4 separate regions of the Homo sapiens genome follow, and regions 1, 2 and 4 are each linked to region 3. The links are contacts of gene promoters, found by promoter capture Hi-C in human tissues and cell types (Jung and others, 2019). All regions are on one chromosome and are shown on one strand. The core of a region is centred on a gene start or on the middle of the fragment in contact, and the rest is flanking DNA. Distances in the headings are between cores, read along the strand shown. Region 1 overlaps PTPRM (protein tyrosine phosphatase receptor type M). Region 2 overlaps PTPRM (protein tyrosine phosphatase receptor type M). Region 3 holds the start of PTPRM (protein tyrosine phosphatase receptor type M). Region 4 overlaps PTPRM (protein tyrosine phosphatase receptor type M).

Region 1 (2,700 bases), core at 29-2,528, 580 kb before region 3:
GGAATTAAAAATAAACCTCTTCAAAATGTTTAGTTTGGATGTCCAGGCATGGAAGGGCCTATTGTTCCTTAGGACTTACACTGGGTCATATGTTTTTAAAAAGTACAAACTACTGGTGCCAAAAATAAGCTATCTACATACACATTGAGGTGGGGAATGGACGAAGAACATCCAGGAAAGGCCAGGCGCAGTGGCTCATGCCTGTAATCCTAGCACTTTGGGAGGCTGAGGCAGGGGGATCACGAGGTCAGGAGATCAAGACCATCCTGGCTAACATGGTGAAACCCTGTCTCTACTAAAAATACAAAAATTAGCTGGGCTTGGTGGTGTGAGCCTATATTCCCAGCTACTTGGGAGGCTGAGGCAGAAGAACTGCTTGAACCCAGGAGGCGGAGGTTGCAGTGAGCTCAGATCGTGCCATTGCACTTCAGCCTGGTAACAGAACGAGACCCTATCTCAAAAAAAAAAAAAAAAAAAAAAAAGAGGTGAGGCATAAGAAAAAGAGAAAGAAAAAAGGAAATATGGGAAATATGGAGGAAAAAGGAAATAAAGAGAGAAATAGGTAAAGAAGGGTAAAGAAAAGAGGGGTAGAGAGGAATGGAATGAAAATAAATAATGAATGAAAAATAAAGATAGGAATCACACGATGGGTAGAAAAAGAGATAAACGGCACATGACAAGTGGGGAAAAACAGTTGTAATGGTGGGGACCAAAGACCAGGGATGCGCACAGCTGTGACAGAGCAACGGTTTGTCCTGGGGCTTGACTAGAACAGAACCATAAATGGAGGGAGACTCAGAAAAGGAGTAGATGCATGTATCTATACTGGAATATTAACTCGCCCTGAAATATTGCTGTTGCCAACGGTTTTACCTTCATCCTTGATATTCCTTCTTCTCACTCTACAAAAACTCTGAGGAGCCTCTTCCAAACCTATGGCTTCAGCTCCAGAAATGTTGATGACTTTCAGACTATGGAAATTATTATTTCTAGTCCACAGTAGCATATTCAACCTCCCAGTGAACATCTCCACTTAATTTTAAAGGAGTATTGAACTTAAAATGTGCAAAGCTGGGATTGCTGGCAAGATGGCTGAATAGGAACAGCTCCGGTCTGCAGCTCCCAGCGAGATCAACACAGAAGGTGGGTGATTTCTGCATTTCCAACTGAGGTATATGGTTCATCAAATTGGGACTGGTTGGACAGTGGGTGCAGCCCATGGAGGGCGAGCCGAAGCAGGGTGGGGTGTCATCTCACCCGGGAAGTGCAAGGGGTCGGGGAATTTCTTTCCCTACCCAAGGGAAGCCGTGAGGGACTGAGCCTGAGGAACCCTGCACTCCAGCTCAGATACTGCGCTTTTCCCATGGTCTTCACAACCCACAGACCAGGGGATCCCCTCTGGCGCCTAACCCCACCAGGGCCCCGGGTTTCAAGCACAAAACAAGATGGCTGTTTGGGCAGACACCGAACTAGCTCCAGGAGTTTTTTTTTTTTTTTTTTTTCCATACCCCAGTGGCTCCTGGAACGCAAGTGAGACAGAATCATTCACTCCTCTGGAAAGGGGTGCTGAAACCAGGGAACCAAGTGGTCTGCCTCAGTGGGTCCCACCCTCATGGAGCCCAGCAAACTTAGATCCATTGGCTTGAAATTCTTGCAGCCAGCACAGCAGTAGTCTGAGATTGACCTGAGATGCCCCAGCTTGGTGGGGGGCGGGGGGGGGCGGTGGGGTGCCTGCCATTGCTGAGGCTTGAGTAGGCGGTTTTCCCCTCATAGTATAAACAAAGCCACCAAGAAGTTCGAACTGGGTGGAGTCCACTGCAGCTCAGCAAGGCCACTGTGGTCAGACTGCCAGATTTCTCCTTCCTGAGCAGGGCATCTCTGAAAAAAAGGCAGCAGCCCCAGTCAGAGACTTGTAGATAAAATCCCCACCTCCCTGGGACGAAGCACCTGGGGGAAAGGGCAGCTGTGGGCGCAGCTTCAGCAGACTTAAATGTCCCTACCTGGCAGCTCTGAAGAGAACAGCAGATCTACCAGCACAGTGTTGAAGCTCTGATAAGGGACAGAGTGCCTCCTCAAGTGGGTCCCTGACCCCCGTGTATCCTGACTAGGAGACACCTCCCAGTAGGGGCCGACAGACACCTCATACAGGAGAGCTCTGAGCGGCATCTCGTGGTTGCCCCTCTGGTATGAAGCTTCCAGAGGAAGGAACAGGCAGCAATCTTTGCTGGTCTGCTGTCTCCGCTGGTGATACCCAGGCAAACAAGGTCTGGAGCGGACCTCCAGAAAACTACAGCAGACCTGCAGCAGAGGGGCCAGACTGTTAGAAGGAAAACTAACAAACAGAAAGGAATAGCACATCCACTCAAAGACCCCATCTGAAGGTCACCAACATCAAAGACCAAAGGTAGATAAATCCATAAAGATGGGGAGAAACCAGCGCAAAAAGCCTGAAAATTCCAAAACCAGAATGTCTCTTCTCCTCCAAAGGATCATAATTCCTCGCCAGCAAGGGAACAAAATTGATTGGAGAATGAGTTGACGAAGTGACAGAAGTAGGCTTCACAAGGTCGGTAATAACAAACTCCTCCAAGCTAAAGGAGCATGTTCTAACCCAATGCAAGGAAGCTAAGAACCTTGAGAAAAGGTTAGACAAATTGCTAACTAGAATAATCAGTTTAGAGAAGAACATAAATGACCTCA
Region 2 (2,700 bases), core at 143-2,642, 560 kb before region 3:
AATGGTATCAAAAAATTAAATTGTTTTTATACATTGAAAATCTTTTACATAGAAATTCTTAAGTTTACATAATACAAATGGAAAATAATACTATTTCAGTGCAATATAGAGATTTTAAAATATATTGTTTCTGAAATCAAATACTTGACATTTGACTCAGTATTCCATTCCAAAAAATGACAAGAAAAAAGCAACAGCATCCCTCATGGCATGCCTGTATCCTCTCACCATTTTCTTGTAACTATACTGTTTTATAGATGAAACTGCCACAGCAAAATGACAAATATAACACATAAAAGAACAAAAAGGGCAATAAATCAACAGTGACACTATAGCCCATTAAAATGCAGTCAGCTGGTATTGCAGAAAGAATAAAATTTTACCCTCATTTTACATTCTTTCTAGCCAGAAAGGAAATTTCAGAATCCTCAAGCAGCCCTTGAAAGAGATGCTGAAAATCTCAAAAATCTCAAATTCTCCTCACACCAACCCTCTATATTAACTTCCGTAGCTGAAACACATAGCACTGATATCCCCCTCTGCCATTTAATATGAAATGCCCACAACAGTGTGTGTGAATTGTTAATCATCTTATATTTACAGAATACTACATTTGACAAAAAGTAAGATACCTAGTTAGTTGGAAAATGGTAGTTTTAAGTTAGCCACTACTTTCAATCAGTTGGTTATCTGCTTAAATGAAGAGTTTAGCCATCTTTTATTTACAAAGAAATCTAAAGGAGGCATTTTCTTCCCTTAATTTTTATCCAAAATTCTCTCAAAAGGTTAAATTGAAGCTTCTGACACTGAAAATGACTCTGGTATCATAGAGATAGTACGTTTTCGAGTGCAACTGAGTATATGTTAACTTAGTTCATTACCCACTTACCACTATTACAAATAGTTCAAGGTGTTGGTAAGCTTATGGAAGTGGAGCATTTATTGAACTGTTTATGTTGGTCTTAACAAAGGCACTAAATATAAGTTCCTGCAGAGCAAAGAGCATACCCTACACTTCCATGAATGTTCCTCCTCTCTTATGTAGAGCTCATGGTAGGGCCAGCTCTCCTAGGGGGTGAAAGCGCATCGATGGAAACAATGAATGAGTGAATGAATGAATGAATGAATGATAGCTTCTCTAGTAGTAGAGGATAGTGCTCACAGGACAGCTCCCTAAAGCTACATATTTCAGGGACAGAAAGCTGCAACTTTGGTTTCTGTCAGAGCTAAACTGTATGCACCGTCTGAAGGAAGGCTAACTGGAGGGGGTCTGTGTAGCTCTTGGTCCAGTTGCCCCTCCTGAAACCACATTCACCCTGACTGCAGTCACAGGTGGAAGTGCCACTGTGGCAAGGATGTTATTTTTTTTAAAAAGCAGTGTGAAAATTAGTTCACCCTTCAAGGGAATTTTATCTTTTACAAATAACTTCATCCCATCAAAAAAAAAAAAAAAAACAATACAGCTGGACTCTGAGTGCCGTTCATGTGCCAAGCACTGAGTGGCAGGCTGAGGAAAGTTTAAAGATATATAAAATATGGCCCCTGGAAGGGATTCTAAGCATTCCTTTGATATGGCTGACCCTGTCCCTTAAGTTCCCTAGCATGTGCTCCTCCATGCTGGCTGCAGCTGATCCATTCCCCATGACCAGTACTTACTGTATTAATTCCTGGCTTTTACCTCTTCTATTCACATCTACTTACTCTGTTCTTTTTTTTCCAGTGTGTTGGACAGTCTTCCATTTCTTATAGTTTTACTTTTGGTCTTTTGGCCTTTTTCATCTCTTCTCCAATGTTTCTAGTGTGGCTTGGAGTACACAGTGCAAAACTGATCCTTTCTGTCTCTCCTAAAACACTCCAATTGTTTCCCACTCCTCCTGGGATCAAGACCAAAGTCCTTAATGTAAGGTACACGGTCACAGTTGGCCTTGCTCTGCCTGTATCACCTTACTGCTCACCCCACACATCCTTTTCGCTCTCTGCTCTCCAGCCATGATGACCTTTCTGCAATTCTTCATATCTGACCATGCTTCATCACACCACCGGACCTTTGTACCTGCTGTTACTGCTACTAACTAAGCTAATGTTCAGTAAACAATCCCACCATCTTCAAGCCATATACTGTCCTCCTTGCTACTCAGTGTGGCTAAGATCCAATCAGTTATATCTTCATCTTACAAATAGAGAACCTTGGGTCCCCAGAAGGACAGACATTATCTACCTACATCTTAGCTCTGCCACGGTTTACTGAAGATAAAGAGGACTTAGGATGTGAAATGGGATCTGACTGGTGGGAAGTAGAGAAATGGACAGACAGTCAGCAGAGTAGGAGGAAAACAGATAATGTTGGTGGGAGTGGCTGGGTCATTCTCTTAGAAAATCAATTAACATTCAACCTTTTTATGGCTCTTGCCAAAAGAAATGGGTGATCGAAATTATGCTTTTGTAAGTGGGTTGAAAAACCATTGGTTTGTTTTATTTGCAATGGAAAAGCTTATTAAATTTATATATATATACATATTAAAAAGAGATATTTTGTAATCTTGCATAAAGTAACATAAAATCAGTCAAAAGAAGACAAAATAAACCAATTTCAAAATATTCCTCCCCTCAATCAAAATTTACTCACAATAATAAATGAAAGCTATACAATACCTAGGAATAAATTTAGTAAGACAGGTCATCAACTGTTATTCATTCAGT
Region 3 (2,700 bases), core at 172-2,671:
TGCAGGCACACACGCGCACACACTCACACGCTTGCTCGCACACCGCCAGTGCCTCTCCTTCCCACCTGGGACCCCCGGGCAGCCGGGCTGGATGAACAAGTTGCAGCTGGCCGCGGCGCTCCGCTAGGGGGACGAGGGTGGGGAGGGGGAGCCCAGCGGGGCGCAGGGCCGTGGCCAGGGCCTGGGGACCTGCCCGCTTCCCTCCGCGGCCGCCAAGCCCTACCGCTGGGACCGGCGAGGAACTCCCCCCAGCCTCTCCGCAGACGCTGCACGACCGCGGGGACCTCCCGGGGTCGCCAGCCGCGCCGGGCAGGGGGCGACAGGGAGGGCAGGGCACCGGGAGATCGCCGCCGCCGGAGCGGCCGCCAGTTCCCGGCGATCGCTGCGGGCGCAGCCGAACACCAGCGGCCTGGGCCCGGCCGCTGCTCGGGGTCGGCGGGGACCGCGCAGCGCCTACGCCAGGCGGCCCGGCGGCTGCAACTGGGAACTTCAAGCAAAGTTTTCTGCTGTTCCTTTTGCAGCCGGCCAGGGACTCAAGAGTGCAAGCCGCCCAACCTTGAGCACTAGCCCAGGCCGCGGAAGGACGGCGGCCGAGCTGGCAGTCCCGGCTGGGGAGCTCGCCCTCGGGGTCCGTCCGCTCCGCCCGCCCGAGGACTGGGTGCCTGCCAGCCCCACGGCCCCTCGCCCAGCGCCCGGCTCACAGGCAGAAGCGGTGTCCGGCCCGCCGCGCCCCCCGCCCGGCCCCGACGCCAGCCTTAGGGCTCTACCACCAGGGAGCTGTCGGCGTCCCGGGCGTCCCGCGCCGGCCCGCGCGCCTCGGGGGCGGCAGAGGCGGTCCCGCTTACCTGAGAACGTCTCGCCCGCCGCAGTTAGCAAAAGTCCGGCCAAAGTCGCCAGGCAAGTCCCAAGTCCCCTCATGGTGCTGAGTGCGGGCCGGGCCGCTCCCCGGCGGCGGTGGGTGGGCGCGCGAGGGCGGAGGGGGCCGGGAGCTTTGGTTCCGAGGCAGCGAGGAGAGACGGGTAAACAGCAGAGCGCTAAGCCAAGCCCCCAAAGTGCCAACAGTTGCAGAAGTCCGAACTCCAGCGGCTCCAGGGGCGCGGGCACAGGGTCCTGGGTCCTCCTCCCCTGTCCCTGGCCCCACTCGGCGTCTGGCGCCGCTGGCAGAGGGAGCGGAGGGCGAGCCCGCGGAGCCAAAATCTTCCCTCGGTTCCGGTTGCTGAGCTCGCCGCCTCTCCCCTTCCCCTGCCCGGGACCCGGGACCCGAGCTGCCGGCCGTGGCCGTGGCGGTGGCCGTGGCCGTGGCCGCGCGCGTTCCGCCCGCCGCCTCTCCACAGGCAGCCCCAAGCCCAGCCCCGGGCGGCGGCGCGCCGATGACCGAGCCCGCGCCGGCTGCGCGCGGGGCTCTTGCTCCCCGACTGACTGGCGGTGCCCCGCAGGCCGGCTGAAGGGAGCGCTCACGTCACGGCCGCCCGGCGCCGCCGCGGCCCGCTAGAGGGCGTGAGCGCCCGTGCCCCGCCGGCCCGCGCCCGAGCGCCTCCGGGAGCTCGGCTGGGGGCGGCCCCGCGGCCACAGCCACTACCGCCGCCGAAGCGGGCGTCAGCCGCGCGGGGAGGAGCGGCCACCGGGCTCCCCCCGCCCACCTCCTCGCCCCGGCCGCGTCTTCTATTTTGGTAGCTGGCTCTGGGGAGGGTGACTGTGGAAGAGGCTGCGCCGCCGCCAGAAGTTTGTCCCGGGTCACGAGCCGCGAGTAGTTTGTGAGCGCGGCCGGGCGGGACCAGCGGCCTGCGACCCCGCGGGCGCGGCCAGGCGGCTTCGAGCCTGGCGCCGGACGGCGATGTCACCGCACAGGGCCAGCTGCACCCGGAGTCGCCGGGCCTGCGCTGCTCGGCGGCTGCGGGAAAAGCGAGCCAGGAGATCGCTGAGGCTCCGGAGGGCTGCGAGCTTCTCTACGCCGCGGGCGGAGCGAAGTTGGCGGGCGCCGGGAGATGGCGCGGGAGCCGGGAGCGCCGAGCCCCGCGATCGCCAGCCCGCTCCCGGCCGGGCCCGCCGGGTACACGCCGCTGGCCCCGAGCACTGGCGCCCGGGAAGCAGGGCGCGCTTCTGCTGTTCTGCGTCCTCATCATGCCTCGGTGTCCCGTGTGGGCCCGAAGCGAGCCGCAGGCAGTACACGGAAGGCGGTGGTCACACCAAAACCAGGGTTTGGACATAACCCGTGGTTTCTGTATCTGGTGCAAAGTGCTGAGAAACAGGGGAGAAAGAGAAGTGGGGGGTGAATCAAGTAATGTCTTGAAATATTTTAGTTTTACGATTTTGGGTCTGAGTGAATTAAAAAAACCTTACAATGCTTCAGCAAAAAATAATTTTTTTATTTTAATTGTAAATTTTTTTGTAAGTGATCCTTCTATCTTCCAGGGAATAAGCACATTGAGCCAGCACCAACCAGACAGCTGTAAGCTCCTGGCCTAGCTAACTGAACGCAATAGAAGGCTTGGGAAGAGGTTAAATTAGGAACCAAAGTAACTGAGTGACAGGGTTCTAGCAATGATTCTGGCTAGAAGGCAAACCGGTGATACAGAGGCACCCAGGAGCTCTCCTGCACTTTTTCCGCAAGAGGGGTCCTCTGCTTAGTGCTCACTGCTTTCTAGTGCTTATAAACACGTAAAAAAATAAATGGATTCCACACTCATCTTGACCCTGTTC
Region 4 (2,700 bases), core at 46-2,545, 530 kb before region 3:
GAGCCACAATCACCCACTAAGTGTGCTGCTGGCATGCCTTCTGAAGCCGAGAGAAGCATTTCACACTCTAGCTTTTAGTAACCAGAGGTGCCACCCACATCCACTGAGTAGGCATCATGGTAACACCTCAACACGTACAGTCATTGTCACAAAATTGATGGACACAGGCCCACAGCAAAGGGGTTAAGGTGCAATATAAGGAAGGTAGGAGAAGCAACAAAAGAAAGATCCAGAAGGTTCTTCCAAACAAGAGACACTAAGAACAACTTTTTACTGCTTATGAAAATTGGGGTTTAAAAATATTTATATAATTAGTGATTTCCAATGAATTATTGGAAAGTCATTGCTAGGCTAGTTTTTCAATTTCAAGCGTTCTAGTATTCACTTTAACAATACCCCAGACAGTATTTTTAACATCAATATATTCTCTTTTTTTCCTTCTAAAAAGGACTAAGTGTTTTTGATTTCTCTAAATCCTATTTCTAATGAAAATCAGCATCTGGCATTTATGAAACCCCCTTCCTCCATGCCGCCAGGGTTAGCTCTATCTTAACTGGGCCCAGCACATCCTCCAGCCTTTATGCCGCTCCTATTAGTTTGTTCTGAGGCCGCACGCCCTCTAACCCATCCTCCATTGCTGCTGCAGCTCTTCCTTACATTTTTTCCCTGACCTGAATCCCTTGAATGGCTACTTATTGGTATGGAGTACAAGGTTGTCCAATTCATCCTCTATCTCCCTTGCTTCTTCTCCCATCCCACCCCTCTCTCTGATTATAACACACTTCTCATTCTCAGATCAGGCCAAACTCAGTCCTCCCTGTCTTCATGGAGCCAACCTGTCTCTCTCATTTTTTTATTCCTTGCCACATATCTAACCTCCCTGGCAACATACTCCACATCACACAGATGCTCTGAACAACAGCCGTCTGTCAAGATTCAGCTACTTGGCCCCAGGGTTACCTCCTCTCTGAAGTCTTAGCTGACTCTTCCCTGTACTGACCACTCCCTGGTCAGGCCACTGGTTCCCATCCTCATCCCTACTTACTACAGGACACTAGATTCCATGTTGCTCTCTTTCCAATCTACATTGCCAGCCCCTGGAGAAGAGAGCCCTTAGCAGCCTCCTCCATATCCCCAATGCTTAGCACCACCTTGTGCTTGAACCTCATGAGTATTTAACAAATCCAATCCTAGCACAGCTGTAAGATATAAGGGGTATTATCCTTGCTGTGGAAAGACAGGCAAGCCCAGGCTCAGAGACCTTAAGATGGAATTTTTAACAGTGGCGTAACTACAAGTGGAGAGAGCCTGGATTTGAAACTATGCTTATCTAATTTCAAAATGTGTCCTTCTCTATGTCATGCACTCGTTTTAAAAATTAGGCCCATAATTTATGTGATATATAAAGTGAGTGATTATTTGAATATTAGAAGTTTCCTCCTTAACATTTGCCAAAGGAAGAATGAAAAATTCTGTCTAAAAGGCTATGTGCGACACTTGATATGATCTTGTATCTTAGGGGCAATAGTTGTATTAATTATTAATGGATTCAGTAGTTTCTAATTAATTTAGAGTAAGCATTATTTAGATCTGGAAACCATATATTGATTTATTTTATTTATATTTTGTTTTAAATTTTTAAAATTTAATTATAATTGAGATAGGGTCTCAATTTGTTGCCCAGGCTGGTCTTGCACTCCCAGGCTCAAGCAATCCTCCAACCTTGGCCTCCCAAAGTGCTGGGATTACAGGTTTGAACCACCGTGTCTAGCCCCTATATTGATTTATAATAGGCTAAGTTAAAATAAAGCCACTTTAAAATTTATATTACAAAACATTTATATCTTTTTTTTTTTTGAGACAGGGTCTGGCTCAGCTGCCCAAGTTGGAGTGCATAATCACAGCTCACTGCTGCCTTGACTTCCTGAGCTCAAACAATCCTCCCACCTTGGCCTCCCGAAGTGTTAGGATTACAGTCATGGGCCACTGCACCTGGCCAGAATATTTATATCTTAAGGTAAACTTTGCATTGCAAGGTTTTACACTATAAGTTTTTTGTTTCTCAAAATAATATTGTCATTCCAGCAGGAAAATACTATAAAGGGATAAACTTTTTTGAATAAATAATAGAATTTAGCTGGCTCCTCTAAGCCAGGATCAAACTCTTGAACAAACCTATTCTGATTAAAAGAACAAATTCTGGAATCTGGGGAGTGAATTCTAACATAATTATAAGGACTGAATTATTATAAAATGGCATGTAAATCACAAATATCTTTTTTTAATAAAGTGGAAAGAGATTCATATACTTAAAGGGTGACTAGAACATTAGGCTTTGTTAAGTTACGTAAGTAATACATCTCACTGGTTCTTCATACCCATGGCACATTGTGAAATTTACTATGTTGCCAAGTGTTTATTTCCTTTTAGAGTGGTTATAAACAGAAGACCGTTTTGCTTGTTTTATGGCTAAGTTTATTCAGTTAAGCTGATAATAACCACAATCACATAATGATTCAGGGATCAATAGGGAAACACATCCATTTTTTTTTCTGAGTTATTATATAGATTTGGGGTCAGGGGAGTTTGCTAATTATTTATAAGATCAATTCCTGAAAACTTGCAAATGCACAAATAAACTGGTAGCTCCTTGCAATCAAACTTAAGATTCATCAGAGAAATCTGAATTTATATGAATTC

What was found. Contacts are between HindIII fragments. The study calls those that stand out against the background at their distance.
Region 1: a contact is called between a fragment that was not itself captured here and the fragment with the promoter of PTPRM in region 3, in 1 of the 25 tissues and cell types used here (dorsolateral prefrontal cortex).
Region 2: a contact is called between a fragment that was not itself captured here and the fragment with the promoter of PTPRM in region 3, in 2 of the 25 tissues and cell types used here (dorsolateral prefrontal cortex and mesenchymal stem cells).
Region 4: a contact is called between a fragment that was not itself captured here and the fragment with the promoter of PTPRM in region 3, in 1 of the 25 tissues and cell types used here (IMR-90 fibroblasts).

The regions. Positions count from the first base shown.
Region 1 is chr18:8,150,495-8,153,194 of GRCh38, reverse strand. All of the region lies in intron 14 of PTPRM (protein tyrosine phosphatase receptor type M), which reads right to left. Among named protein-coding and RNA genes, the nearest start is that of RAB12, 460 kb to the left of the region's middle. The HindIII fragment of the contact is 5,911 bases long and covers 1-2,700 here.
Region 2 is chr18:8,126,174-8,128,873 of GRCh38, reverse strand. The region is part of intron 13 of PTPRM (protein tyrosine phosphatase receptor type M); the gene reads right to left. Among named protein-coding and RNA genes, the nearest start is that of RAB12, 480 kb to the left of the region's middle. The HindIII fragment of the contact is 3,659 bases long and covers 1-2,700 here.
Region 3 is chr18:7,566,037-7,568,736 of GRCh38, reverse strand. It overlaps PTPRM (protein tyrosine phosphatase receptor type M), which reads right to left and starts at 1,421. Exons shown (of 33, transcript NM_001105244.2): 1 at 846-1,421. The coding sequence starts at 918. RefSeq lists a silencer at 1,371-1,740. The HindIII fragment of the contact is 7,623 bases long and covers 1-2,700 here.
Region 4 is chr18:8,093,524-8,096,223 of GRCh38, reverse strand. All of the region lies in intron 11 of PTPRM (protein tyrosine phosphatase receptor type M), which reads right to left. Among named protein-coding and RNA genes, the nearest start is that of RAB12, 510 kb to the left of the region's middle. The HindIII fragment of the contact is 7,507 bases long and covers 1-2,700 here.